7 separate regions of the Homo sapiens genome follow, and regions 1, 2, 4, 5, 6 and 7 are each linked to region 3. The links are contacts of gene promoters, found by promoter capture Hi-C in blood cells and fetal thymus (Javierre and others, 2016). All regions are on one chromosome and are shown on one strand. Each heading gives the region's core, a stretch centred on a gene start or on the middle of the fragment in contact. The rest is flanking DNA. Distances are from core to core; before and after follow the strand shown.

Evidence for each region. The method cuts DNA at HindIII sites, captures the fragments that hold promoters and counts their contacts. A CHiCAGO score of 5 or more calls a contact.
Region 1: a contact is called between a fragment that was not itself captured here and the fragment with the promoter of UBL3 in region 3, in 3 of 17 cell types (naive B cells, naive CD8 T cells and total B cells). The highest score is 5.4, in naive B cells.
Region 2: a contact is called between a fragment that was not itself captured here and the fragment with the promoter of UBL3 in region 3, in 3 of 17 cell types (naive CD4 T cells, fetal thymus and naive CD8 T cells). The highest score is 6.7, in naive CD4 T cells.
Region 4: a fragment that was not itself captured here is called in contact with the fragment with the promoter of UBL3 in region 3 in 1 of 17 cell types (naive CD4 T cells); the score reaches 5.0 in naive CD4 T cells.
Region 5: a contact is called between a fragment that was not itself captured here and the fragment with the promoter of UBL3 in region 3, in 1 of 17 cell types (neutrophils). The highest score is 5.0, in neutrophils.
Region 6: a contact is called between the fragment with the promoter of ALOX5AP here and the fragment with the promoter of UBL3 in region 3, in 3 of 17 cell types (total CD8 T cells, naive B cells and fetal thymus). The highest score is 8.1, in total CD8 T cells.
Region 7: a fragment that was not itself captured here is called in contact with the fragment with the promoter of UBL3 in region 3 in 1 of 17 cell types (total B cells); the score reaches 5.1 in total B cells.

What each region holds. Positions count from the first base shown.
Region 1 is chr13:30,656,287-30,660,022 of GRCh38, forward strand. It overlaps USPL1 (ubiquitin specific peptidase like 1), which reads left to right. Exons shown (of 9, transcript NM_005800.5): 9 at 1,188-3,736. The coding sequence ends at 3,070. Among named protein-coding and RNA genes, the nearest start is that of TRN-GTT2-4, 16 kb to the right of the region's middle. RefSeq lists enhancers at 3,016-3,736, 3,516-3,635. The HindIII fragment of the contact is 693 bases long and covers 910-1,602 here.
Region 2 is chr13:30,573,735-30,577,701 of GRCh38, forward strand. It overlaps a transcript of HMGB1 not described here. Among named protein-coding and RNA genes, the nearest start is that of USPL1, 42 kb to the right of the region's middle. RefSeq lists an enhancer at 3,706-3,785. The HindIII fragment of the contact is 3,186 bases long and covers 1-2,974 here.
Region 3 is chr13:29,848,959-29,853,095 of GRCh38, forward strand. It overlaps UBL3 (ubiquitin like 3), which reads right to left and starts at 1,659. Exons shown (of 5, transcript NM_007106.4): 1 at 554-1,659. The coding sequence starts at 580. RefSeq lists enhancers at 225-294, 765-834, 1,505-1,574 and silencers at 1,135-1,434, 1,705-1,814. The HindIII fragment of the contact is 5,102 bases long and covers 1-3,994 here.
Region 4 is chr13:30,634,456-30,638,406 of GRCh38, forward strand. USPL1 (ubiquitin specific peptidase like 1) reads left to right here. Exons shown (of 9, transcript NM_005800.5): 5 at 3,289-3,402. Among named protein-coding and RNA genes, the nearest start is that of USPL1, 19 kb to the left of the region's middle. The HindIII fragment of the contact is 2,782 bases long and covers 1,200-3,951 here.
Region 5 is chr13:30,779,116-30,783,150 of GRCh38, forward strand. No RefSeq gene overlaps it. Among named protein-coding and RNA genes, the nearest start is that of LINC00398, 22 kb to the right of the region's middle. The HindIII fragment of the contact is 5,080 bases long and covers 119-4,035 here.
Region 6 is chr13:30,733,546-30,737,504 of GRCh38, forward strand. ALOX5AP (arachidonate 5-lipoxygenase activating protein) reads left to right here and starts at 1,998. Exons shown (of 5, transcript NM_001629.4): 1 at 1,998-2,130. The coding sequence starts at 2,061. All of the region lies in intron 2 of LOC124903146 (a long non-coding RNA gene), which reads right to left. The HindIII fragment of the contact is 8,013 bases long and covers 1-3,719 here.
Region 7 is chr13:30,679,347-30,683,188 of GRCh38, forward strand. No RefSeq gene overlaps it. Among named protein-coding and RNA genes, the nearest start is that of TRN-GTT2-4, 7.2 kb to the left of the region's middle. The HindIII fragment of the contact is 9,070 bases long and covers 1-3,842 here.

The sequences.
Region 1 (3,736 bases), core at 6-2,505, 810 kb after region 3:
CATTGTGTGCAACCACCATCACCATCAGGACTTTTTCATCAACCCAAACAGAAACTACTCATTAAACAATAACTCCGCATCCTTCCACCCCAAAGCCCTGGTAACCACTATTCTACTTTCTGTCTCTGTGAATCTGTCTATTCTAGATACCTCATAGAAGTGGAATCGTACATTATTTGTCCTTTTGTGTCTGGCTTATTTTACTCAGCATATTTTCAAGATTCATTTGTGTTGTGGGATGTAGCAGAATGTCATTCCTTTCTAAGGCTGAGTAGCATTGTATGTATTATCCATTTATCTGTTACGGACATTTGACTATTGTGAATAATGCTGTTGTGAACATTGGTGGACAAGGAACTGAAAGTCCCTGCTTTTCATTCTTTTTGGCATAAACCTACAAGAGGAATTGCTGGGTCTTAACGGTAATTCTGTGTTTAATTTTTGGACGAACTGCCAGACTGTTTCCACAGCAGTTGTACTATTTTACATCCCCACCAGCGTTACACAAGGATTCCAATTTCTCTACATCCTTGCCAACATTTGCTATTTTCTATTTTTTTTTAATAATATCCATCCTAATGGGTGTCTTTTTTTTTTTTTAAAGGAATGGTTTAAACAGGTTACCTTCTTACTCCTCATTCATGCTTTAGTTGACTACATAAGGACCCCTCTCCCTATTGGCACCATTGAAATTGTTCAGGCAAAAATAACTGCCAGCGACACACTGCTTTAAGTAATGGACTTTTCCCAAGTTTTGTATTAATATTTCAGTATTTGGTAGTGCATCCTACTGCTAGTTTTTAAACTCTTCCCTTGTCATCTATCATCTCATTCTCTCTTGACAAATGTGAAAATGGAAGCTCAGAAATAAAACAAGAATTAAAACGAATAGTGATCCTTCAGGTAACAAGCTTCATTTATCATGAAAACATATATGTATGAAACATTCTGTTTTCTGATGTTATTGGATAAATTAGGTGATAACCAAATTCTAAGTTCCAAAAATTAAATATACTCTATCTAAGGACTTTAACATGGCAGACAATGGTGACAAGGTCAAGAACATGTTTTAGAGTCTTCTCCTTTGGTCGGTATTCAATGATACAACAGTTGAAAAGGCCAGAAGAAAGTTAACCTAGGATGGTGGTTTTTGAATATCTAACTTTCACTTCTTTCCCATCTTCCAGGAAGTTGGCTGGAATGTGATGACTTAAAAGGCCCATGTTCTGAAAGGCACAAGAAATTTGAAGTTCCTGCTTCAGAGATACATATTGTTATTTGGGAAAGAAAAATATCCCAAGTGACAGATAAAGAAGCTGCCTGCCTTCCACTTAAAAAGACTAATGACCAACACGCTCTCAGTAATGAGAAACCAGTATCTTTAACATCGTGTTCTGTGGGTGATGCTGCCTCAGCTGAAACAGCCTCAGTAACTCACCCTAAAGATATATCAGTTGCCCCTCGTACTCTTTCACAGGACACAGCTGTAACTCATGGAGATCATTTACTTTCAGGTCCAAAAGGTTTGGTTGACAATATTTTACCTCTGACACTTGAAGAAACTATCCAGAAAACAGCCTCAGTTTCACAGTTAAATTCTGAAGCTTTCCTGTTAGAAAATAAACCTGTAGCAGAAAATACAGGAATTCTCAAAACCAATACTTTGCTATCACAAGAATCACTAATGGCTTCTTCAGTATCAGCTCCATGTAATGAAAAGCTTATTCAAGACCAATTTGTGGACATAAGTTTTCCATCCCAAGTTGTAAATACAAACATGCAGTCAGTACAGCTGAATACAGAAGATACTGTAAATACTAAATCTGTGAATAATACTGATGCTACTGGTCTTATACAGGGAGTGAAGTCAGTAGAAATTGAGAAGGACGCTCAGTTAAAACAATTCCTTACACCAAAAACTGAACAATTAAAACCAGAACGTGTCACATCTCAGGTATCTAATTTGAAGAAAAAAGAAACTACAGCAGATTCTCAAACCACAACATCTAAGTCATTACAGAATCAGTCTCTGAAAGAAAATCAGAAGAAGCCATTTGTGGGAAGTTGGGTTAAAGGCTTAATAAGCAGGGGTGCTTCTTTTATGCCACTCTGTGTTTCAGCTCATAATAGAAACACTATAACTGATTTACAACCTTCAGTTAAAGGGGTAAATAATTTTGGTGGCTTTAAAACTAAAGGTATAAACCAGAAGGCCAGCCACGTATCCAAGAAAGCTCGTAAGAGTGCAAGTAAGCCTCCTCCCATCAGTAAGCCACCAGCAGGCCCTCCATCGTCTAATGGCACAGCTGCCCACCCACATGCTCATGCTGCTTCAGAAGTTTTGGAAAAGTCTGGAAGCACCTCATGTGGAGCTCAACTCAACCACAGTTCTTATGGGAATGGTATTTCTTCAGCAAACCATGAAGACTTGGTGGAAGGTCAGATTCATAAACTTCGTCTAAAACTTCGTAAAAAGCTAAAGGCAGAAAAGAAGAAATTAGCTGCTCTTATGTCTTCCCCGCAAAGCAGAACAGTTCGAAGTGAAAATCTAGAACAGGTGCCCCAGGATGGGTCTCCAAATGATTGTGAATCAATAGAGGACTTGTTAAATGAGCTACCATATCCAATTGATATTGCCAGTGAGTCTGCATGCACCACTGTTCCTGGTGTTTCCCTGTACAGTAGTCAAACTCATGAAGAAATTTTAGCGGAATTATTGTCTCCTACACCTGTTTCAACAGAGCTGTCAGAAAATGGGGAAGGTGACTTTAGGTATTTGGGAATGGGAGATAGTCATATCCCACCACCAGTACCAAGTGAATTCAATGATGTTTCCCAGAACACACATCTGAGACAGGACCATAATTATTGTAGCCCCACCAAGAAAAATCCATGTGAAGTTCAGCCAGACTCTCTGACAAATAATGCCTGCGTTAGAACATTAAACTTGGAGAGTCCGATGAAGACTGATATTTTCGATGAGTTTTTTTCCTCCTCAGCATTAAATGCTTTAGCAAATGACACATTAGACCTACCTCATTTCGATGAATATCTGTTTGAGAATTATTGAATTAATGCTTGTTAACTTTTTTCATATAATATTTATTATTATTAGAAGAACTTACAATGTGTTCAGGTAGTGTTTATACACTGGACTTGTGTAATTACTTGTGTAATAACCATGAACAAAATGCAAGGTTTAACCTTTGGTTCTGCCCATGAAGCATGTAATCTTTCTTACACATTAAAATCACTGAATGTGTTCTCCTTTTTGGTTTCATTTTGTTCTTGTGAGAGTATGAGGATTTCAAAATGTTAAAGATGAAAAGTGGCGTCTAGTTTCTGACAGTTTGTACAGTTGGATGCATTACATTTTTAGATTTGAAGTTTTGGTTATGTTAGTGTTATGAGTGATCTTTGTGGTGGTTTTCTTCCCCTGGAAACCTGTTGCTCGTGGCGCTTTGCCCACGGTGCCCGAGTTCTTGTCCTGTGTCCAGATATGCAGACAAATGAAGGGTGAAGAAGAAGAAGAGGAGCTTTATTTAGTGTTAGAACAGCTCAGAAGGAGACCCACAGTGAGCAGCTCCCCTGTGTCGGCGGGCAGGTCGTCCCTCAAGTGTTCAGCTCTCAGCAGAGAAAAGGCCCTGGAGAGGGTGACTCCTCTCAGCTCTCAGCAGAGAAGCAGCCCTGGAGAAGGTAGCTTCTGTTCGCAGGCAGATTGTCCAGAGGTCCTGCT
Region 2 (3,967 bases), core at 132-2,631, 720 kb after region 3:
CAACTTTATGGGCTTAGGTGATCCTCCCACCTCGGCCTCCCAAGTAGCAGGGACTACAGGCATGCGCCAACACGTCCAGCTAATTTTTTTGGTATTTTTTGCAGAGACGAGGTTTCACCAGGTTGCCGTGGCTGATCTGGAACTCCTGGTCTCAAGTGATCTACCCAACTCAGCCTCCCAAAGTGCTGGGATTACAGGCGTGAGCCACCGCACCCGGCCTAATCTAGCATTTTCTAAAAGGAAGGACCCAGCAGTGAACGGCAATATCAATAATCATGTTCAAGACTATCAGACATGCAAGCTGGGGATGAATGGGTGGAAGGGGAAAATGATGAATAAATGATGAACACAAGTATAGACCCAGTGGATTTGAGATGCCCAAGATGCCAGTGAGATATTCAAAGTTTAACTCAAAAGCCACTTCCCATATGAAATCCTGACAAACACTCCTACGTCCAACTGGAATTAATTTCTCTTCTGGGCTCCCACAGCACTCTGTATTTTTCTAATAGCATAACACTATTTTGTTTGTAGATATTTCTCTGATAGCATTACTATCTTTCCTCTTTATCACAACTGTTTGAAGTTCTTTTGCCTCTTGCATCCACTGTTGCCCAATCCCACTGCTGGAAGGCTCATCTTATTAAGTTCTGTATTCCTAGTGCTAACACACTGTCTACCATAGATGATGTTCAATAAATGGTTGCTAAATGAATTCTCTTGTGATAATAGCACTATGGCAACATAATCGACGGTAAAAATTTCTTCTCAATGTTTACTTTTAGCAGAATGCATTCATTTATCAACTTTCATTGAGAATATGCTAATTTCCATGACCCTGCTAGGAAATAGGAAAATAAAGATGAATGTAATAAGGTGCTCATTCTACTGAAAGTCTTGACTAGTGGAGAATTATGGATCCAACTTTTCATGAAATGCCTTCAGTGGTAAGAATTCTCATATTTGGAATAAAAAATGTTATGGGTTGTGCCAAGATACCTACATACTTCATAATTTTGTAGAGGGCTGTCCTTACTGCAGAAATGTATACTACTATAGTCATATGTGGAAATTCTTTTTATGATGCTAACTGCATGCTAACCAGACTTTTTAATTTAATACTTGCATTAAATAAACCATGCTAGGAATCCAGGAATCTAGCTTGGTTTATTTTCCATACAATGTACTCTTTGTAATATGCATATACTACATAAAAATTCTATTAATGGCCTCGTACTAAAGATGTGTCTGTTGGGGAATCAGTTATTCTGTATAATTTTATCTTAATTGATATATTAAAATCTACCAAAAATATAAACTCCGAGTAAAAGTATCTGCATGGTGTGCATATGTTTATTATTTTAAGTGTCAGCGTATACATTTTCATGCCATAAAGTTATAAAATGAAAAAATAGTAGCCTTTTATATTAAGTTCATGCTTATGTAGTTAGTAAAAACAAGAAAGCAATTAACATACAAACCATGATGGTGGTTAAACTTGCTTCAGTTTGTGTTTTTTAAAATTTGAAAGTGAGAAATACAGCTCGAAGTCAGCTCATATTTTCAGTAAGTACTGATGAGGATGTACTGGCCCTATTGACTACGCTGACCCCATTAAAATATTTGTGAGTCTAAAGGTTCATATGACGCTGTTCCTTCACTCTAGCAACAGGCCATACATGTCTTACATAGGGACTCTGTTCAATTCATTAATACCTCCTGAAGTGCTCAACATCGTGGTTCATTTATAGTAGATACTCAATACATACTCCATTAACTGAATTCTAAGATAAACTGTCTGTTACTGACAGAAATTTTCACTTAAGGGAGTCTCCGTGGCTGAAGGCAATTTTGAAATCCTGTAAAAGAACCCACTCCTCTCCCCAAGTAATGAAGTTTGTCAGTTTCAAGCCTGTAATAAGGTACTGACTTAAAATTAATTTTCTAATAATACAGTACTGCTATGTATCTAATGTGGGGTTAGTCAATGATAGGAAAAAAACATAAGACAGAGTCACATTTAAAAATGTGTGCTTAGGTGCATGGTGACACCTGCCTGTAGTCCAGCTATTCCAGGGGCTGAGGCAGGAAGATCCCTTGAGCTCACGAGTTTGAGGCTGCAGTAAGCCACTGCACTCAGCCTGGGCAACAGAGTGAGACCCTGTCTCTAAAAAAAATTCGTTTTAAGTGTGCTCAGGACATAACAGGAGCCGCTGGTAACATGCCATTTCCACTGTGAATATGGTAAGGACAGAATCCCTGTCTCTAGGCCCTCTTCCACTAGTCAATCTCATCATCACCATCAAGGCCAACATTGGTATTCTCTCCTCTGAGACAAAGTCTTTGACATTTTCTATACTATACTATGTCTTCCTCTCCCCAAATGCATATACAAATAAAATTTGAATGCTTCTTTCTCCATTTAGTGTAATTTTTTTTATAACATAGACCCAATTTTCAAACCCCACAATGGTGGATTTTATTTGATGTATTGTAAAAAGCGCTGGATTGAAGTCAAATGGCTTGGGAGACCTAAATTCTACTCCTGCCTGTACCATGAAAGAGACAAATCCCAAGGCTTTGCAGGGCTTCAGCTTCCTTGTTTGTAGAATAAAGAATTATAAAATCATCTCTTTTGGTCCTACTGGGCAATAAAAAGCTATGATTCTAAGCCTGTTCCCTTTTCTCACCTAAGAATACAAATTTGATACAAAGAGGCCGCAGAATGTGTCAAACACTCCCTGTTGCCTGGAATTCTCTCTTCCTTTGGGTTCAGGGATAAAGGTATGTTATTTCTTAAGTCTCCCTTTGCTTTCTTCTGCTTGCCTCGTAAATATTTTTCCATCTTGGCAGTCCTACATGTCTTCTCACTCTACATGTTTTCCCTAGGTGATGTGACCCAGCCTGTGGCTTCCACTGCCATCCACACACGTCGCTGCCTCTCTCCACATCAGCATCGCAACTATCTCCTGGAAGCTTTCCAAGTGCTGAACTACAGTAACCTCAACCGAACTGCTGTTCATTCACCCCACAGGCTTGCCCCTCCTCTGCATCTTTGTGAGAACCTGAGAGTCATCCTAAACTCCTCCTTCCACCTCACTCCCCACATCAAATCGATTACCAACTTGTGCTGATTTTATCTTCAAATACTCTCCAGAATTGTCGCTGTCATGGACTGAATATTTGTGTTCCCCCAAATTCATATGTCCTAATCCCTGATGTGACTGTATTTAGAGACGTGACCTCTAAGGAGTAATTAAGGTTCAGTGAGGTCAAAGGTGGAGCCCTGATCTGATAGGATCAGTGTCCTTATAAGAAGAGACTAGAGCTGGGCACAGGGGCTCACACCTGTAATCCCAGTATTTTGGGAGGCTGAGGTGGGAAGATCACTCAAGGAGAGGAGTCTGAGACCAGCCTGGGCAACAGAGTGAGACTCCATCTCTACAAGAAAATAAAATAGTCAGACACAGTGGTACACACCTGTGGTCCCAGCTCCTCAGGAGGCTGAGGCAGGAGGATGGCTTGAGCCCAGGAATTTGAGGCTGCAGCAAGCTATGATCACACCTCTGCACTCCAGCCTGGGTGACAGCATGAGACCCAGTCTCTTTAAAAAAAAAAAAAAAAAAGGCCATATATAGCCCAGAAGAGCGTCCTCACCAAAACCCAATCCTGATAGCACCTGGAGGACTTCCAGCCTCCAGAGCTGTGAGAAAATTTCTGTTGCTTGCACCGCCCAGTCTGTGGTATTTTGCTGTGGCAGCCCAAGCTGACTCATCAGTGACCTTCTCTCTGTTACCGCAGAGTAGCTCATCATCCTCTCTTCCCTAGAGTCCAGCCACTCTCTCACATCTACCTACCTAGCAGTATCACTGTGGGTTAGAGTCAGATCACTGCGGATTAAGTCCTCATTCTGCCACTGCCTGTGTAAATCTGAGCAAGTTACTTAATCTCTCTGTGTGTCAGTAAC
Region 3 (4,137 bases), core at 409-2,908:
CCCAAAATATCTTTATATTTCTGTTGCCATCCGTATTCAGACATTTCAAAAACCTCACAGCAAATTCTAACATACTTTTTCTTGAAGAGATGTGCATCCCTGTTCTTGAAAAATATCAAGTTCGTCCCTACTGCAATGACGATCTCGTCTGTGTCATAAAGCAAGATTCCCGTTTCCCTACCTATTCTCTCGTAGGGACACCCGTCCTCAGCTCTGCCCACTGTCCCTGACGTTTTCAGAAACGTTAAAATACTAGTGTTCGGAGGCTTCTAGCGAAGAGGGAGATGTTTTGTCCCCTCAAGCTACCATGATACATTTCCCTACTTCTCCACTATCTTCAATGCTTTAGAAAACACGACCAAATGAGAGAACCCATATTAAAAGCAGTACTTCCTAAAAGGGGGAAACCAGAAGCTCCAACTTCTCCAAATCGCTCAGCACAGTGGCTTTTCGACAGTCCCCAGCAAATCTTCGCCCCACGCCTGCCGTCTTTCCGATTAAATAAGATTGGAAACCACAATTAAATCAGTGTCATAACTTATCCGTCACTTACCATATCCGCCGGGACATTACTGGACATCTTGCCGTTTGATATACACCCAGATGTTTACGAAAAAAACAAACAAAGAAAAAAGAGCAGAAGTCTTCACGTTACAGAAATAAACCACGATTTTGACTGGTTCGTGATGTGCTTTCTCCCCCAAAAATAAAGTTATTTTGGAGCCAAAGTGCCGGTCAGGCCGAGGTTCTGGTTCGAAGAGGAACAATCCCCAGGAGCTGTGTGGCCGGAGCAGGAGGAAACTCCCGGGACAGCAGAGGCAGCCCCCGTCGTCGTCGTCGTCGTCAACAGCAGCAGCAGCCCCAGGACCGGCCGCGCCAGGTGGACCGAGCCGAGTGACACACGGACATGGAGAGGGGTGGGAGGGGGTTAAATGCGCCTTCCTCCTTTCCCAGCCCCGGCAATGATTCACACTTGCTCCCGAGTCAAGTCCTCATTAAGCAGGAGAAAAATGCCCCAGCGTGGATGTACACAGATAACTATGTAGCTACACATCGACGCGTGAGCCTTGAGTGGCGGCCGAGCGGTGGCCGGACGCTGGCCGCGGACCCTGCAGAGCCGCTGTCGGAGCGCCCGCGCGGACAGCGCGGGGAAACGGCTCAACTCGCGCCGCGGGGGCGAAGAGCCGGGCCGCGGAAACCCGCGCTCAAGGGCATTTAACTAGTTGGAAGCCAAAGCGAAAGACCGGAGCGGGGGACCGACAGCGCGGGGGTGCTCGGGGCCGGCCGGGACACTCCACAGCCCCTCTGGGCTCAGGCCGCGGGCGCCTCCGGACAGCAGCTGGGGTCGGGGCGCATCGTCTCCGGCTCCTCGCCACTCCTCTTCTGCCTCCGCCTTCCCCGCCGCCGCCTCCCCGGTCTCCGCCTTCCCTTCCCCTCCCCTCCCCGGCCTCGCGAGCTCCGGGCGACGCCGACTTCGGCTGGTCCCCGGAAGAGGCCGGGTCCTCCTTCTCCTCAGCCCGGGAATGGTTTCCTCTCAGAGCTTTGTTTCTCCTCCTCCTCCTTCACTTTTCAGTCCCACACGCCGCGGCCGCCTCCTGTCATCGCCTCTCAAACCAACATGGCGGCAGCGGCGGCGGCGGCGGCTGCCTGAGTGCGACTAAGGGAAACGGGGAGAGCACGGGCCCCCCCTCGCAGCAGCCGCCGCCCCCGTCCTCGTCCTCCCTCCGCGGACACCAAGTGCGTCACCACGGAGACCATTCCCTCGAGCATCACGGGAAGTGTAGTCTACGAGGGTGGGGGGGGGAGGGAGCCGCCGAACGCCTCCTCACCCAGCTCCGAAGCCACGCCCCCCATAGCAACAGTTGCGAGGAAAGGAAAGCTCCCTTTCCCTTGCTTTGGACAAGCTGCTGCCCAGGAGTTAAGTGATACCTGCTACCAGGAGTGCTGTGATCATGAGAATTGTTGGGAGAAAATAATTCTGCATAGAGAAATTCCCTTATGCACGATATGCACACAGAGCTAAAATATGCTGTACCTCCAAGCAGAATCATTCATTTTAATTACAGCACATTCTCCACATCCTGCAATCTCAATGCATTTTGTAGAGTGATTTCATCTAGGTCTCCTCAACATTACATTTTGAAGAACAAAAGCAATCATTGATTTCCAATAAGGTCACATAAGTTCAACAGGAACAAGGATCTCATTAAGCAGTGAGAATATTTGAACATGTGTTTCCTTGAAGACCCAGGGCAATAAAGCTACAATCTACTTAACTGAAATTACCAAAACTGTATTACATACAACAGTGTTATTATATCAAATCTGTATCAGGAAATAGCTACTACAAACTTCATGGGGATTCACCAGTTTACCCATCTGGACCCTAAATTCTATTCTATGTAACTCATAATGTAATTGAAAACCTATATGCCTTGCAGTGATTAGCAAATAGGAGAAAATAATGCCATTGTTGAGACACCATTCAGATGGACATTTGTGATTTCTGCATTTTGTTCCTAAATCTGAGGTCAACATCTGAATCCCTATTCATATCTCTTAGTCCTTTGACAGAGTACTTTAGAAAGGGCAGTCTCAATATGATGCCTATATATAAATGCCAATGAATTTAGAGTCTGAAAGCCACCTCTCCAACCTACAGCTGTGTGACCTCATCTGTAAAATGGTCTTGCCTACCTTCCGGGGTAAAGTAGGGGTAGTTATGAGGATGAGTTCATGCATGGGAAATAAATCACTTTGTAAATAATAATGCATCATTTGATATGAAATGTCACTACTCATTCTCTCATTCAGCAAACAAATGTGCCAGGCACTCTGCTAGGCACTAGGAGTTTAAAAATGAGTCACTGTAGCGAACAGCAGCATCATGTGGCAGAAATGCCAAGGTCTTGGGTTGGCAATGGGGGTTATTACATCCTTGTCTATAGGGCTGTTGAAAAGAGGCAGAATCCAGTCACTGTCCTCAGGGAGCTCATTGTCTAGAAGCCTACGTGATTCCCCACAGCAATCTCTCCAGTTGGGTTTCTCATCAGTTGGAAACCCACAGGACATTTAGAGTACCTGCCTCTTGAGTAGCCTGGGTGGAGAAATTCCAAACACTCCTAAGGGCCTATATCACCCTGAGGAAGATAGATCAAATTCTCCGAAAAACCAAAGGCCAGAAGAGAAGAGAGGCCCAAATCTCACTGTGATTAGGCTTCAGGACTTTGTCTAGATATTTCCAAGTCCATAGTTACGTGATTTTCCATGGCCTTTGTTACTTGGTTGCTCATTTGCAATGTTTAGCAACCACAGAGTCCCCCTACCCCTACACCAGCCCCCCAGGAAATAAGGGCAGGTGAAAATACTTCAATTGACCAATGAGCTCAGAAGGAATATTGGAGCACATTTTGAAAGCTCTAACTCACAGAGTTAGTCCCTCCACCATACCCTTGACTCCAACTTTTATCCAATGACCTCCCTGGCCATGGCACTGCCTGGCCATGGCACTGCCGGGCCTAAGTGCCACTGTAAGTAGAAAGGCAAGAGTTGCTGTTTGCTGCAGGTTACCACTGCCACCTTTACAAAAGGCAATGTCTTTCAAAAGTCGCTGTGTTTCCAATTACTCTTCTAAGAGGGGCTGAGACATTATTCTCAATAAAACTCATTATAACTCATCCCTAACATTGTTAAGGCATGAGGTAACATTATTGGACACAGTTGCAGATTTTTCCACTCTTTCTTTTCTCTTTGCTTCCCAGCTCAGGCGGGTGAGGTGGGAGGCTGTAGAAAGGAGTTCAGCTGTCCCAAGCAGGAAAAGGTAGCATCTTCTTGACACCAGGAATCTATTGTCAGCATCAGTTGGAAGAAAGTGAATGACACAGCATTTTTGTAATGGGAAAAATAACTTCATAGGAAGTCAAAAGACCTGGCTCTGCCACGAATTAGTTATGTGACCTTTTGCCTCTCTGAGTTTCAATTTCTTCATCTGAGAAGCTTGAACTAAATCTCTAAGGTCCCTTCTAAGAGTCTATGAGTGTCAAGTCCTGGAAAAATAGGGCATGACACCGATGGCCTGTTAAAAATATCTTCCCTAAGTGACTACTTATGGGTAGGAGGGATTTTGGGGGAACAGGG
Region 4 (3,951 bases), core at 1,341-3,840, 790 kb after region 3:
CCACTTCGTATTGCCTAATTTAGTTTGTTTTGATCTTCTGGGACCTTTTTTTCTTGTTGTAAAAATTTATGGGGCTGTTTATAGTTGTGGCTCATTGATTTTTCATTGCTACATAATACTTCCATTTTGTAAATATAACAGAATATTCATCTACCTGTCAGTGGACAGTGGGGTTTTTTTGCCATTATAAATGCTGCTGCTGTGACCATTTGGGGGGCAAGTCTCCTGGGGCACAGTATGAGTTTCCCTTCTGTATAACAAAGGAATGGAAAATTATAGACTTTCGTGTCCAAATTTACAAGATAATGACAATTGTTTTCCAAAGTGGTTGTACCAAGCAATTCTCCCATTAATAGTGTATATAAGAGGTCTTCCTGATCCATATATTCTTCTTGGTTTATTTTCACACTTTTGAGATTTTTGCTATTTGAGTGGTATAAAATGGTCTGTGATCTTGATTTGCCGTTTCCACATTTTGAAGAGGTTGTCGGCTCTATGTGTATATATTGCTCATATTTGTTCCCTCTTCTGTGAAATGCCTTTTGTATCTTATCCCTATTTGTTCTGTTCTGTTGATTGTCACGTTTTAATTGATTTGTATGAGTTTGTTCCTTGTATCATTGTTGCTAGAGTTACATCAGATGTGTTGCTGAATCTGCTCCCAGTTTGCAGCTTGTGTTTTTACTTTTTAAAAACTGTCTTGATTTATAGGGAAGTCTTTATCTTTTCATTTGGAGCTAGTAATGTTTGTGGCTTTTTAAAGAAATTATTACTATTCCCAAGGTCAGAAAATCATTCACCTATATTTTAACTGAAAAGTTATAAAGTTTTGCTTTTGACATTGAAATTTCTCATTCAGTTGGAATTCATATTGATGTGTGGTATGAGGTAAGGATCCATTTTTTTCCCATTTGCATAGCCAGTTTTTGTAGCTCCACTTTATTTTCTCACTTGATCTGCCATGCCACCTCTAGCATGTATCAACATATCATGTATGTGTGCAGCTGTTCCTTAACTCTCAATTTTATTCTCTTGGTTACTTTGTCTAACCCAGCACTCATACTTTTTAAATTATTATGGCTACCTTGTAGGGCAAGAATCCTCACTTTTATTCAACTTCTTTTGAAGTGTCTTGATGCATATTTTTTCTGATCTTACTTGGCCATATATATTTTGGGGACAGATGTGACATCATACCAAGCTTTCTTTGCTTGACATTGTAGATATTTTCTTATTCATTAATGTGCTAAAAATTTTGAGTTTGGTCATACAGTCTTTTATATGGATCTTATACATCGTTTCCCTCTTGTTAACCATTCAGGCTGTTACTAGTTTTTGCTGTTGTGAATTAACACCAGGACAAATATCCATATATCTTTTGAATTAATTACTGACTAGTTTCCTAGGAAAGATATTAGAATATGAATATTAAAGGTCTTGCTGAATACAGTTTTCAGAATGGTTGTACCAATATATAATTCCATTTTCATTATGTAGAAAAAATACCTCAGTGTTTTCTAACCACCTTTGGTTAGAACATTCAAGACGTTATGGTTTTGTTAGGTAAGAAATATTTTGTTTCAGTGTAGGTTTTCTTTGAGACTGAACTTTTTTGTGTGTGTCAGTCATTTACAGTTTTTTGCAATTTTTAAAATTCAGTTTCTCACAAGCATTTTGCCTTTGACTTTTCTTCTATTTCTGCTTTCTCTAATTACAGAAACCCCAGTGTTAAGTAGGTGACAGTTCAGTTGTTTGCTGCAGAAGAGCAGCAGTTCAATATTGGAATTAACTTTAATTTTATGTTTTTAATCTGTTACTAATTTTTTACAGAATAATTGTAGTTTTTATAATCTGGTTAATTATATGTTTGAGCTGCATTACTTTGCAATGTAAGTTTTTTTTTTTGGCATGGTCAAATAACAAAAATTCTGGTTAATGCTTATTTCATATTACAGGAGAATCCAGATATTTCATTAGGGAAACATATAAGCAGAGTGTGATCAGGCTGTATGAATTATTTATAAGAGATGTGAGTGAAAAGATCTATTTGTAGCTTAAGAGTAAGTAGAGTCAGATGCATGTAGAGTCTTTTATTCAAAATAATTTTCTTATTAATCTTGGATAGTTTCTTGTCACAGTAATTCCATTTTGAAGATAATAAATATTACCATAAAGAAGTGATCAAAAACATAGATATGTGTGCCCAAAGGTATTTATCACAATAGTATTTATAATAGTGAAAAAAGAAACAACTAAAATGTCTGGCAATAGGAGAATGATTAATAAAGCGATGTTTCAGCTGAATATAGTGGCATGCGCCTGTAAGCCCAGCTACTCAGGAGGTTGAGGCTGCAAGATGGCTTGAGCCCAGGAGTTAATGACCAGCCCAGGCAACATAGCAAGACCCTGTCTCCAAACACACAAACACACACACAAGTGCTATGTTTCAGTCACTGTATAATAACTAGCCAGATTTTTTGTTGTTGTTGTTTTGTTTTTGTTTTTGTTTTTTGAGAGAGCATCTCACTTGCCCAGGCTGGAGTGCAGTAGTACAATCACAGCTCACTGCAGCTTGTAGAACCCTAACCCTCCTGGGCTCAAATGATCCTCCCACCTCAGCCTCCTGAGTAGCTGGGACTACGGGTGGGTACCACCATACCCAGCTTTTTTTCTAAGAGATAGGGGTTTCACTATGTTGCCCAGGCTGGTCAGTTTTTAATGAAGCACATTTGTGTAGACAAAGCAGGATGTGGAACCGGATAAACACTATGTTGCCACTGAAGACCCCTTCAAACCCCTCAAAAATGACATAGAAGGGAAATATGAGATATTAGTTTGGGAAATAATTGTAACTTTATTAAGACTCCTTATAAATTTATCTGTTCCTATGACCTGGCTAAGTTCAATAAAAGTTACACAGAGTGGAATAAATGGTTAGACATCATTTGTAGTATAAGTAATTGCACATAAGGAGGTAACTTTAGCTGTTTTAGAGATAGACATAGTATCTGAAAGGTTAGTTATTTTACTAGACCTGTGATTATTTGGGTGAGAAAGGCTTTCACTGAGATTTTACCCATTCAGTAAGTACTAATGATATTGTGCTGATAGCATATATTAAGGGAATATATGGTATACCACAGAGAAAGAATTAAGGAAATTTTGTGTTTTGCTTTTTGTCTGTTTGCAAAACTTACTGACTCAGCTTTCATTCTTGGGAATGTGTCAGTTTTCTGTGGGAAGATATACATTGATGAGGAATTGATAATGTTCTCTGTATTTTCTTAGATGGAGATTGTAAAAAACTTACCTCAGAAATATTTGCAGAGATAGAGACCTGTCTGAATGAAGTTAGAGATGAAATTTTTATTAGCCTTCAGCCCCAGCTTAGATGCACATTAGGTAAGTAATTGGTAAAACTTACTTGTATTATACTCATCTACCATATAGAAATATGTACCTCATAAGGAAATATAATACTGTTTGATTACCTTGGATGATCATATTCTTGGGAGAGAGAATCTGAGTAGTTTGACTTAGGAATCTACCACTGGGTAAGTTATTGTAGGGCAGAGCTGTTCCATATAAATATGTAGGCTGGTGTTCCACCTCTTGAGAGTGGGTGCAGTTCTCAGAACCAGGAGAATTTTAGGGGGCATATCATTAGTTGCTTCTCTAGTACGTTTCCTAGTAGACAGATCTAGCATTTTTAACCTCAATTGTGCATTAAAAAGCACCGAGGGAATTTAAAAGTAAATGCCAATGCTGGGGCATTTGAATTAGGATCTCAGGGATGGGGCTCAGGAAATCAGTAATTTTTAGAAACCCCACATGATTGTTATATGTACCCAGGGTTTAGAATCTCATCTAAACCAACCATAGTAATTCTACTTCCCTACCAGTGATTGGTTTAGGAATGTCCTTGTGGTAGAGTTTTGGCCAGTGGATATT
Region 5 (4,035 bases), core at 1,409-3,908, 930 kb after region 3:
AAGTGAGGACATCTTTGGGTTTTGTTCCTTCACACACGTCTGCTTCTCTTTTGATGCTCTGCCATGCTGTGACACAGCATGAAAGTCCTCGCTAGAAACTGAGCCGAGGCAGGCACCAAGCTTCTTGTGCTTTCCAGCCTGTAGAACTATGAGCTAAACACACCCCTTTTCTTTAGATGTTATCCAGCCTCAGGTATTCTGTTACGGCAACACAAAAGAGACTAAGACAGAAAATTGGTACCGAGGAGTAGGATGTTGCTACACAGATATCTGAAAATGTGAAGTGGCTTTGCAACTGGGTCATGAGCAGAGGCTGGAAGAGTTCGAAGAAGCAGCTAGAAAAATACTATATTGCTATGAATTAAGCATTAAGGATGATTCTGGCGAGGGCTCAAAAAAATACAAAAAGATGAAGGAAAGTTTGGAAATTGTTAGAGATTTGTTAAGAGGTGGTAGCCAGAATGCTGATAGAAATATGGATAGTAAAGGTCATTCTTATGAACTCTTAGATGGAAATTAAGAACTTACTGGGAGCTGGAGTAAAAGGCATCCTTGTTATGCCATTGCAAAAAACTTGGCTACACTGTGTCCATGCCCTAGGACTCTGTGGAAAGCTGAACTTAAGAGTGATGGAATAGCATATCTGGTGGAAGAAATTTCTAAGCAGCAAAGTGCGTGGGCTGCTGAGTGCTTGCTTCTAACTGCTTACAGTGAATTACTAGAAAAAGGGAAACAGAGCAGAAAAAATTGGAAAATTCACAGCCTGGCCAAAATTCTGGTAGAGAATGAAAGAGCCCAAAGGTGAGGTGAGGCAGAGAAACCCCTTGCTAGAGAGATTAGCGTGGATAAACGGAAGCCAGGTGCTAAAAGAACAATGGGAAAAAGCAATGGGAAAAAGGTCCCCAACGCATTTCAAAGATCTTTAAGGTCGCCTCTTCCATCACAGACCCAGAGGTCTAAGTCTAAGATGACAGGTTGGTTTAGGGGAACAAGCCCAGGATGCTGTGTCTCTGTGCTGCCTGGGGACACTGGTCCCCACATTCTGGATGCTCCAGCCTTGGTTCATGTGGCCCCAGGTTTGACTCATGCCACTGCTCTGTAGAGAGCAAGCCCTGAGCCTTAGCAGCTTCCATGCGGCACTAATTCTACAGACATACAGAATGAAAGAGCAGTGGAGACGTGGCAGCTTCCTCCTAGATATTAGAGGATGTATCAGAAAGCCTGGGAGCCCAGACAGAAAATTGACACAGGGGCAGAGCCACTACAGGGAGTGCCTACCAAGGTTGGTGGAGCTATAAAGGCAGGGCTGCCCTCAAGACCCCAGAATTGTAGAGCTACTAGCAGCATGTAGTGCCTGCCTGGGAAAGCTACAGGTGTCTGATTTCAAGCCCTGGAGCACCCACATGGGCTCTGCCCAGCAAAACCATGGGGATGGGGCTGCTCAAGGTCTTGGGAGCCTACCCCTTTCACCAGTGTGCCTAGGAGGCAGCACCTGGAGCTTTAAGATTTAATGTTCGGTCTACTGGGCTTTGAACTTGTGTGGGACTTGTCATTCTTTTAGTTTGTCTGATTTTTTCCCCTTTGGAATGGGAATGTTTATCTTGGAAGTAAAAAACTTGTTTTTGATTTTACAGGCTCAGAGTTGGAAGGAGCTTGCCTTGAGTCTCAGATGAGACTTTGGACTTTAGACATTCTAGTTGATGCCGGAACAAGTTAAGACTTTTGGAGACTATTGGGAAGGGATAATTGTATTTTACAATGAGGAGGGCATAAGTTTTGTGGGGCCAGAGGTGGAATAATATGGTTTGGATATGGTTTGTTTATCCCCACCAGATCTCATATTGAAATTTGATCTCCACTGTGGCTGTGTTGGGAGTTGGGGTCTGGTGGGAGGTGTTTGGGTCATGGGAGGTGGATCCCTCATGAATGGCTTAGTACTGTTCTCAAGGTAGTGATTGAATTCCCACTCTTGGATTAGTTCTCTTGGGAATAGATTGTTTCCCTTTGAGGGTGGGTTGTTACAAAGTGAGGACACCTCTAAGTTTTGCCCCTTTCCTTTGACCTTCCACTGTTTCATGAGGAGCAGATGTTAGCACCATGCTCCTTGAACTTCCCAGCCTGTAGAACCATGAGCTATATAAATCTCTCTTTTTTTTTTTTTTCATTTTAAGTTCTTTTTTTTTTAATTATACTTTAAGTTTTAGGGTACATGTGCACAATGTGCAGGTTAATTACATATGTATACATGTGCCATGCTGGTGTGCTGCACCCATTAACTCATCATTTAGCGTTAGGTATATCTCCTAATGCTATCCCTCCCCCTTCCCCCCATCCCACAACAGTCCCCAGAGTGTGATGTTCCCCTTCCTGTGTCCATGTGTTCTCATTGTTCATTTCCCACCTATGAGTGAGAACATGCAGTGTTTGGTTTTTTGTCCCTGTGATAGTTTACTGAGAATGATGATTTCCAATTTCATCCATGTCCCTACAAAGGACATGAACTCATCATTTTTTATGGCTGCATAGTATTCCATAGTGTATATGTGCCACATTTTCTTAATCCAGTCTATCATTGTTGGACATTTGGATTGGTTCCAAGTCTTTGCTATTGTGAATAGTGCCGCAGTAAACATACGTGTACATGTGTCTTTATAGCAGCATGATTTATAGTCCTTTGGGTATATACCCAGTAATGGGATGGCTGGGTCAAATGGTATTTCTAGTTCTAGATCCCTGAGGAATCGCCACACTGTCTTCCACAATGGTTGAACTAGTTTACAGTCCCACCAACAGTGTAAAAGTGTTCCTGTTTCTCCACATCCTCTCCAGCACCTGTTCTTTCCTGACTTTTTAATTATTGTCATTCTAACTGGTGTGAGATGGTATCTCATTGTGGTTTTGATTTGCATTTCTCTGATGGCCAGTGATGGTGAGCATTTTTTCCTGTGTTTTTTGGCTGCATAAGTGTCTTCTTTTGAGAAGTGTCTGTTCATGTCCTTCGCCCACTTTTTGATGGGGTTGTTTGTTTTTTTCTTGTAAATTTGTTTGAGTTCATTGTAGATTCCGGATATTAGCCCTTTGTCAGATGAGTAGGTTGAGAAAATTTTCTCCCATTTTGTAGGTTGCCTTTTCACTCTGATGGTAGTTTCTTTTGCTGTGCAGAAGCTCCTTAGTTTAATTAGATCCCATTTGTCAATTTTGGCTTTTGTTGCCCCTGCTTTTGGTGTTTTAGACATGAAGTCCTTGCCCATGCCTATGTCCTGAATGGTAATGCCTAGGTTTTCTTCTAGGGTTTTTATTGTTTTAGGTCTAATAAATCTCTTTTTTAAGAAATAAATTTATAAATAGAATACCCAGCTTCAGGTATTCTGTTATAGCAACACAAAATAGACTAAGACACTCTCCAACCTCCTAATTATGGAGAGCTCAGGCTTGCTGCACAAGTCTCTTGCACATCTCCAGATACCTGAGTGATCTTCCTCACATTTAATAATTTCTAAAATTTGTCTTCTCCAAAGGAGATCCCTTTCTTAACCTCCAGACTAAAATATCACATTGCCCTCATCCCTACTTAATGTGTCCAAAACAAAACCTCTGATTCTCCATCCACACAATCACTTTCTCCCTTAGTGGGCCCATCTCAGTAAGTGGTAACTCTGTTCTAATTGCTCAGGATGAAACCCTGGCATCAACATTGACTCCTCTTCTCTCATACTGCACATTCCATTCTTAGCAAATCCTGTCAGTTTTACCTTCGAAAAATTATTTTTAAGATCTGACCATTCTCACCACCCCCACTGCCCAATGCCATTCTAAACTTCCACCATCACTGCAGCATAAAGCTCCATGAGGGCAGAGGGCTTTGTCTGTTTTGCTCATTGCTATGTTCTCAGCTCTCAGCACATAGTAGGTGCTCAGTTGCTATTTAATAAGTAACCTCTCACCTAGATTATTGCAGTAATCCCCTAGCTCGGGGTTTCTTGGCCTCAGCACATTTGACATTTGGGGCCAGATAATTCTTCATTGTGGTGGGCT
Region 6 (3,959 bases), core at 748-3,247, 880 kb after region 3:
TTGTAATAACTCTGTGGTAGTTAATTTTATGTCAAATTGATTGAGCTAAAAAATGCCCAGGTAGCTGGTAAAATGTTTTTTTCTGGGTGTGTTAGGGAGGGTGTTTCTGAAAGAGATCAGCACTGGAATCAGCGGACTAAGTAAAGAATTCCCACCCTCACCAATATGGTGGGTGTCATCAATCCACTGAGGGCCTGAATAGAACAAAAAGCGGGCAGAAGGGCAAATTCCCTCTTCTTCTTGAGCTGGGCCATCCATCTTCTCCTGCCCTTGGACACTGGAGCCCCTTGTTCTCCAGCTTTTGGATTCAGACTGGGTCTTGCACCATTGCCCTCCATCTTCTCCTGCCCTTGGACACTGGAGCCCCTTGTTCTCCAGCTTTTGGATTCAGACTGGGTCTTGCACCATTGCCCTCCTTGATGCTCAGGCCTTTGAATGCAGACTGGTCTCCACCAGCAGCTTTTCTGAGTCTCCAGCTTGCAGATGGCAAACCATGAAACTTCATGGTGTCCATGAGCATGTGAACCAATTTCTATTATAAATCTGCAATATATATATATGAGGAGACTTATTTATATATTGGTTCAGTTTCTCTGGAGAGCCTTGGCTAATATAAAGTCTATACTCTACAAAGTGCCCTAGGTACTCAGGGAGTACCCAAGTGTGTCATGACCAGCCCGACAGCCCTGGCTGCTGGCTTCCCCGCACACAACTCTGCACGCTGCCTTCATCAGCCTTTCTCTCTCAGCTGAACCGAGGGCATTGAAGCGGGCCTCTGGCACTGTACCTATGAGGGAGCAATATCTTCCCCTACACTGACCTCTTCCGTGCCGAGATGCAGCCCTCCCTGCTGCCACTAGTTACAGTGGTCCATGTTCCCTTTCAAAGTGAAGTTTTGATAAAAGCACCTCTTAACCAATGCCAAATAGCTAAGTCTGGGACAAAGATTGCAGGTATTTTGCATTTTCCATGTAACCTCAGAGGGATTGCCATTCACACTGATCTGAGCTGCAGAATACCAGGCAGCCACCTCACCCACCCAGCAGGTCCACTCTTATACTTTCTCAGAAAGCACAGCCACTCTACTCTTATTCAGTTGAAAAGAATTTCCAGGAAGGTGTTTCTGCGATTGCCTCAGAAAAGTCAGTTCCCTTTGGGAATTTCCCTTAGGGATCATCTGTAACTCCATTTCTGCCTTTTACCTGAATTCTTTGGTTTGGTTTGAATTCTTTGGTTTAATTTATGAATTCCCTTTATTACTTTTCTCTGAAGAAATGGAGATATCAGCTGTCCCTCCCCACTGCCATTTATTCCTTCCTTCATTCAAACCTTATGTGGCTGCTACTTACCGTGTGTTAAGTGTTCACTTTTTTTCTTGGAATTCAAAAAAAGAAGGACAGTATTTGGGGCACAGATCTTTTGGTGTTCTATACATTTTTTTAAAGTTTCATTTTACATTTGTGTGTGCGTGTGTGTGTGTGTGTGAGACAGTCTTGCTCTGTTGCCCAGGCTGGAGTGCAGTGGCATAATCATTGGCTCACTGTAGCCTCAAAGTCCTGGGCCCAAGCAATCTTCCCACCTCAGCCACCCAAAATGCTGGGGTTACAGGTTTATGCCACTCTGTCTGACCTGAAAGTTTTGGGTTTACTTTCCCTTCTTTCTCTTTGCTGAAGTCAGAGATGATGGCAGCTTCCAGATTCTCTGGTGCCTGTGCTGGGCTCGTGCTGGTCATGGTCTTGGGTCCAGGATTCATTCTGGAGACTCTCAGGGAAGTTTCCCATGACAAGGAAATGTAGGAGAGTGTGCTGGCTTTGCGTGCTCCTCTGCCAAGCCCTGCTTCTCCTGGTGGGACACACTGAACCACAGCCAGGGCATTTTGGTGGTTAGTTAAAAAAAAAAAAAAAAAAAAAAAAAGGAAGAAGAAGGCACTGTGTAATTGTGCCGGGGATCTTCAGAAATTGTAATGATGAAAGAGTGCAAGCTCTCACTTCCCCTTCCTGTACAGGGCAGGTTGTGCAGCTGGAGGCAGAGCAGTCCTCTCTGGGGAGCCTGAAGCAAACATGGATCAAGAAACTGTAGGCAATGTTGTCCTGTTGGCCATCGTCACCCTCATCAGCGTGGTCCAGAATGGTAAGGAAAGCCCTTCACTCAGGGAAGAACAGAAGGGGAGATTTTCTTTGATGGTTGTTTGGAAGTCAGGCTTAAACAATTGTGTCTGTGTGTGCGCATGCACAAACACTTTTACCTTATCTTTATTTTCTTCTTTTTATTTGAATGTATAGGGTTGTGTGTATTTCTGTGTAAATTTGGGGTTTTCCTCCTCTTAGTCTTTCACTTTTGTGGTGATTACCAGTCCCATTTTTAGAGCCAGGGCTGCAACTTGAAGGTTTTGCTAAAACCCTCACCGAAGTGTCTATGATCAGCATTTTAACTATTAATTAATGTGGCCAGGCAAGGGGTGGAAGGTGAGAAGACTAGAAAGGGAACATGATATACACATTTACTCAGATACTGGGCTTTTCTAACATCTGCAGTGCAATTGAAGTTACCAGTCATCTGCAGTCTAAAAAGAAAGTGATTTTGGGAGGTGCGTAGAAAAAATCATCTTATTATTTTTCCTCTATATTACTTTTTTCTTTTTTTCTCCTGAAGAAACTTTTTTTTTTGGTGATACCTTCTTTTTCTCTAGCACGTATAATTTTGGAAGCATTTTTCATATGCAGTGTATACTTCAGAAAGAGAGAGAGAGAGAGGAAAATTGTCCTGTTCAGCGTTTGCATTTCCATTATTCCTGCTATTAGTTAAAAACAACAACAACAACAAAAAACAAGCAGGATACCTAGATCTGGAAAAGGGAGAATTGTGTAGAGCTGTCTTCCTAAAGTTCTGAGTTAGGGCTGCCTCAGACCACTTTCATAACTATCTCCAGTGGCTTTGTGTTTTATATTTATTAAGATAGAGAAAAAAAGAGTAATTACTAAGGGCAGCTGCTGTAGCTTTATGGTGATTACTGAACATTGACATGCTGTCACGTTTTTGGAACTTTGAGTATTTAATCACTTTGGGATATTCTATTTTCCCCCATCTTGAGTGTGGACAGATGCTGGTGATGTAGCCTTCTGGGCACAGAGCAAGCCTCCCCCTCAGCCTCTGCACCAGAAAGGCTCAGCTTCACACACTCCAAGTATGTTTTCTACAAGAACTACACTTTGTGGCTTTCTGACCCAAACATTTTTATACTAAATTACACACAACAAAGTTGTAGCTCAGAGAGGGAACAAATGGCTTATTTAGGCCACCATTTTCTTGAGCCATTATGATTTCACACAGGGCTCCCTTGGCCCTGTAAATTGGCAAGGATTCCATTATTCAACCCGCATACATGTACAGAGACCCTGCTCTGGCCCAGATAGTATTCTGGGTACAGGCGGATAGAGCAGGAAACAAAACAGCTACAGTGATGGACAGGTCAGCCTGCAGCAATGCCTGCAGTCTCTGCAAAGGTAGCTGTATGGGTGGGCAGGTGGCTAGCACTTATTCAGCTCTGGAAGGATCTCCCCTCTGGCCTCTCCCCTGACACCCATCAATAAAACTGAGGAGCATCGGTGGACAGGGGACCTTGTGCCCCCTCCCTGCCTGTGCAGTTGGGGCTGAACCCAGCTACGAAGTTTGAGCTCACTCTCTCCAGCTCCCTCTCAATTCAGAGCTGAACTGTGGGAAGCTTCAGAGCTCTCTGTTTCAAGGACAGGTTCTCCTCACCTCTCCTAATGGAGGTGCACCAGGGAACTGGCCCTGCTCTGCCCAGGGCTTTCTCCTGGACTTTGCCATCATGGTCTAGCAAACCCTGTTCAGATTGAGGTGAGTGGTGAGATTTCGAATTCTTTTTGACAGATAGGATTAAGTCTTCTTCTGTGGGACAAGTGGGAGGTAGAGGTAAGATTAAAGATGGCCAAATGTCT
Region 7 (3,842 bases), core at 947-3,446, 830 kb after region 3:
TTCCGGAAGCTGAAGCGGGGGGATTGCTTGAGCCCAGGAATTTAAGGCTGCAGTGAGCTATGATTGTGCCACTCCGCTCCAGCCTGAGTGAGAAAGCAAGACTCTGTCTCTTAAAAAAAAAAAAGTGATATATTTTTAAAATAGAGTATATTACTTATATAGACATCAAAAACAATATTTTCAAGGGATATTTAAAAACATAGGATCATGACAAAATGTAAAGTTCAAAGGTAAGATGGAGAATGGAGAACTGTGGGGAACTGTATAATCTGACAATTCGTAGTTGCATACATCTTTCTGTGTGCTGGTGCTGTTAGAACACTTTGTACGCATCACCTCATTTAAGTTCAGCATCCCTAGGTGGCAGATACTATTATTATATTCCAGTTTTGTTTCACGTTGTATATGCGGTGTGAGCCCCAATATGGGATGTGTGTGTGCACATGTGCAGTATTTGGAAAGTTCTATGAAATATTATTAGTGGTTATCTCTGGGAGGTGATTTTTATTCCTTTTCCAGTATGTTCTCAAGCATTTGCTGCAAGCAGTCTTTTGCGGGGCCAGGGTTGAGAGGCAGCAGCAGTTTCCCTAAATTACAGATAGAGGGAGGTAGGTGGTTATGCTTGGCCAGATCTCTGTCTAGGGGTAGAGGAGTGCCTGTGTGTGGGTAGGGACACCGGCGGGGGGCTTTGCCAAACACAGTGGAACTGTCACGCTGGTCTCTCTTCTCAACTCTTTCACTCACCTGAGAAAAGGGTGTCTATGGACCATGCACACTTCTGTGGGGAATTTTACAAGATGTGAATCATCAGTGATGAAGATGCTTTCATTTAAAAAGAATTGGAGTACCTGAGATTAGAGATAACTTCTACCCTTTTAAAATATTTTTAAAAATTTCTTTGCACTGATTTTTTTTCTTCGTTTTTATGAGTTGTTTTCATTTGGGTGGGATAACTCAATCTACAGGAGAATATTAAGACTTTTTAAATTTTAAAAAATATACTTTCAAATACTTAATACATTTTGTGTTAAATGACAGCCAGCAGATATTGACTGAATTGGGCTAGATGCTTCAGGGATCTCCCTTCCATTTAAGACTCTCCGAGAGGCCATTCCTGACTGCAGGTCACTGTATTATTTTTAATTTTAAAATTTTTACTTACTTATTTTATTTAATTTTATTTTTTGAGACAGAGTCTCACTCTGTCGCCCAGGTTGGAGTGCAGTGGCACAATCTCAGCTCACTGCAACCTCCACCTCCCGGGCTCAAGCGATTCTCCTGCCTCAGCCTCCTGACTAGCTGGGGTTACAGGTGCAGGCCACCACACCCCGTTAATTTTTGTATATTTAGTGGAGTCAGGGATTCGCCATGTTGGCCAGGCTAGTCTCAAACTCCTGACCTCAAGCGATCCTTCCACCTCAGCCTCCCAAAATGCTGGGATTACAGGCCTGAGCCACCCCACTCGGCCTACTTTATTAATCCACTTGCAGAAACAGGATATACACAAAAACGTTTCAAGGCTGTAAGTGCCACTGCATGGCACCAATGGTAAACGTTTTACAAATTTGAGTCAGGAACAATCATTAGTGTCACTAGCAACAAAAATCAAAATTAAATGAAATAAAAAATTTCTTTCCCCAAATGGCAAAGGAGAAAGAAAGGTAATACTAACACGCAGTCAGGGTGTAGTGAGAGGGCCGCTCTCACACAGGACTGGTAAGTACAGAGCCATGGAGTAAGCAGGTCTTGAGCTGACACTGGAGAGGATCCTTTTTTTTTTTTATTTTTATTTTTTTAGAGTCAGGGTCTTGCTTTTTTACCCAGGCTGGAGTACAGTGGTGCCATCATAGCTCACTGCAGCTTCAAACTCCTGGGCTCAAGAGATCCTCCTGCCTCAGCATCCCCAGTAGCAGGGACCACAAGTGAGAGGATCCTTTAGTGTTGTCAAGGAGAAGGAACAGAGGTGTGGATGGGTGGGCACAGACACAGGAGCACAGCTGAAGCAGAGGATTACAAAGGGTGGAGCCTGATGTAAAGAAACCTAATAGGTGACAGAGCATGGAGGCTCTTGAATACCAGGCTGGAAACTGCATTAGGAACGGTGCTCATAATTGCAGAAAATTTTACATGGCCTAGATAGTCATCAAAGGATGATGTACAAACAACTATGGCATATTTATACAATGTGCCGACAGGATGCACTGAACATTTTGAACAACAAAGAGACTTGATAATGGCGAGGTTTTGAGGAGGTGAATCAGGATGCAAAAAAAGCAAACAACTAATAAAGTTGATTGATGACAAACACTATCAAAAGGCAGCCAGGAGAAAAGCTACTGGTTACCTCCAGGGAGCTGGTGAGGGAGGCTGGGTGGGAGGATCTACCCTTCTGAATTCTGAGGGCACCTCCAGTGTGGCCCTCAGAAAGCAGGAGCTTCCAGGCTAGAATCAGATCCCGACATCCCTGTTAATTCCACGGATTCCACACCGAGTCAGATTTATGATTTACTATAGGGTTTTAAAAACCAAATTGCAGGGATGCTAGCCTATCACAGCTTATCTCAGACATTGTCCACTAAGGTATACAGAGTGCTGCCTGTTCCTTTGGTACCCTAATCAGGAAACCCCATCAGATCTGCTCCTTCCTATGGGGTAGTGAGTAACACGAAGGCTTACCATCTCACACAGATAACTGGTCATAGGTCCAGCAGAAGTTTAAAACAGAAAATGAGGAAAGCCATGTGATTAACTGCTGCCAGACTGTTTGTGTTACAAACAGCAGTTCCTTAGGCATTGCCTGGGACATGCAATAATTTCTGTTACACAATCTGTGGTAGTTAAAATGCTGCACGATGAAAGCTATCTGATTTGGATTCATTATTAGGTGAGCCATCTCGTCTGCAATTTGGTTCCACCATTTTCATTTAACAAATGTAAAAAAGTTTATTAAGCTCTTACAAAGTTATGCTGGGCAAATATGCAAAAGTCCAGATCACCTACCGCAGGAACTAATCTAGCCTCCTCTCTGGGCACCCTGTTGTTTGGGGCTGGGCAGTTCTTTCCTGTGTAGAACCATCTAGGGCTGAATAGGTCATTCTGACACCTGGGCACCTCTGCCTGCTCGTAAATGGGACAATCAGAAAGGGCCCTTATGTTTCCAAACTTTCTTTAAAGTAGCTGTTCTGAAAACATGGTCCAGGGACCCCTGATTGTCCCTGAGACCTTTGAGGGGATCTTCAAGGTTAAAATTAATGTCATAATAATACTAATATGTTATCTGTCTTTTTTCACTCTCACTTTCTCACACGTGAACAGTGGCATTTTCCAGGTGACAGAGTGTGTGATAATGAACCTAACTGAATGCAGAAGCAAACATGAGAACCTAGTTTTTTCAATCAAACCAGACGTGAAAGAGATTTGCAAAAATGAAAAAACAATGCTATCCTCCTCACAATATTTTTGTTTTAGAAAATAAAGTTATTTTTCCTAGAAATGTTTTTGAGTTTATCAGTCATAGGTTTATTATTATAATTAAAAAATGAAATATACATACACAGACATATTTTTTAAAGTTCTCAGTTTTAATCTCTTTTTTTTTTTTTTTTTTTTTGAGACGGAGTCTCGCTCTGTCGCCCAGGTTGGAGTGCAGTGGTGCGATCTCAGCTCACTGCAAGCTCCGCCTCCCTGGTTCGCGCCATTCTCCTGCCTCAGCCTCCCGAGTAGCTGGGACTACAGGCACCCGCCACCGCGCCCGGCTAATTTTTTGTATTTTTAGTAGAGACGGTGTTTCACCATGTTAGCCAGGATGGTCTCGATCTCCTGACCTCGTGATCTGCCCACCT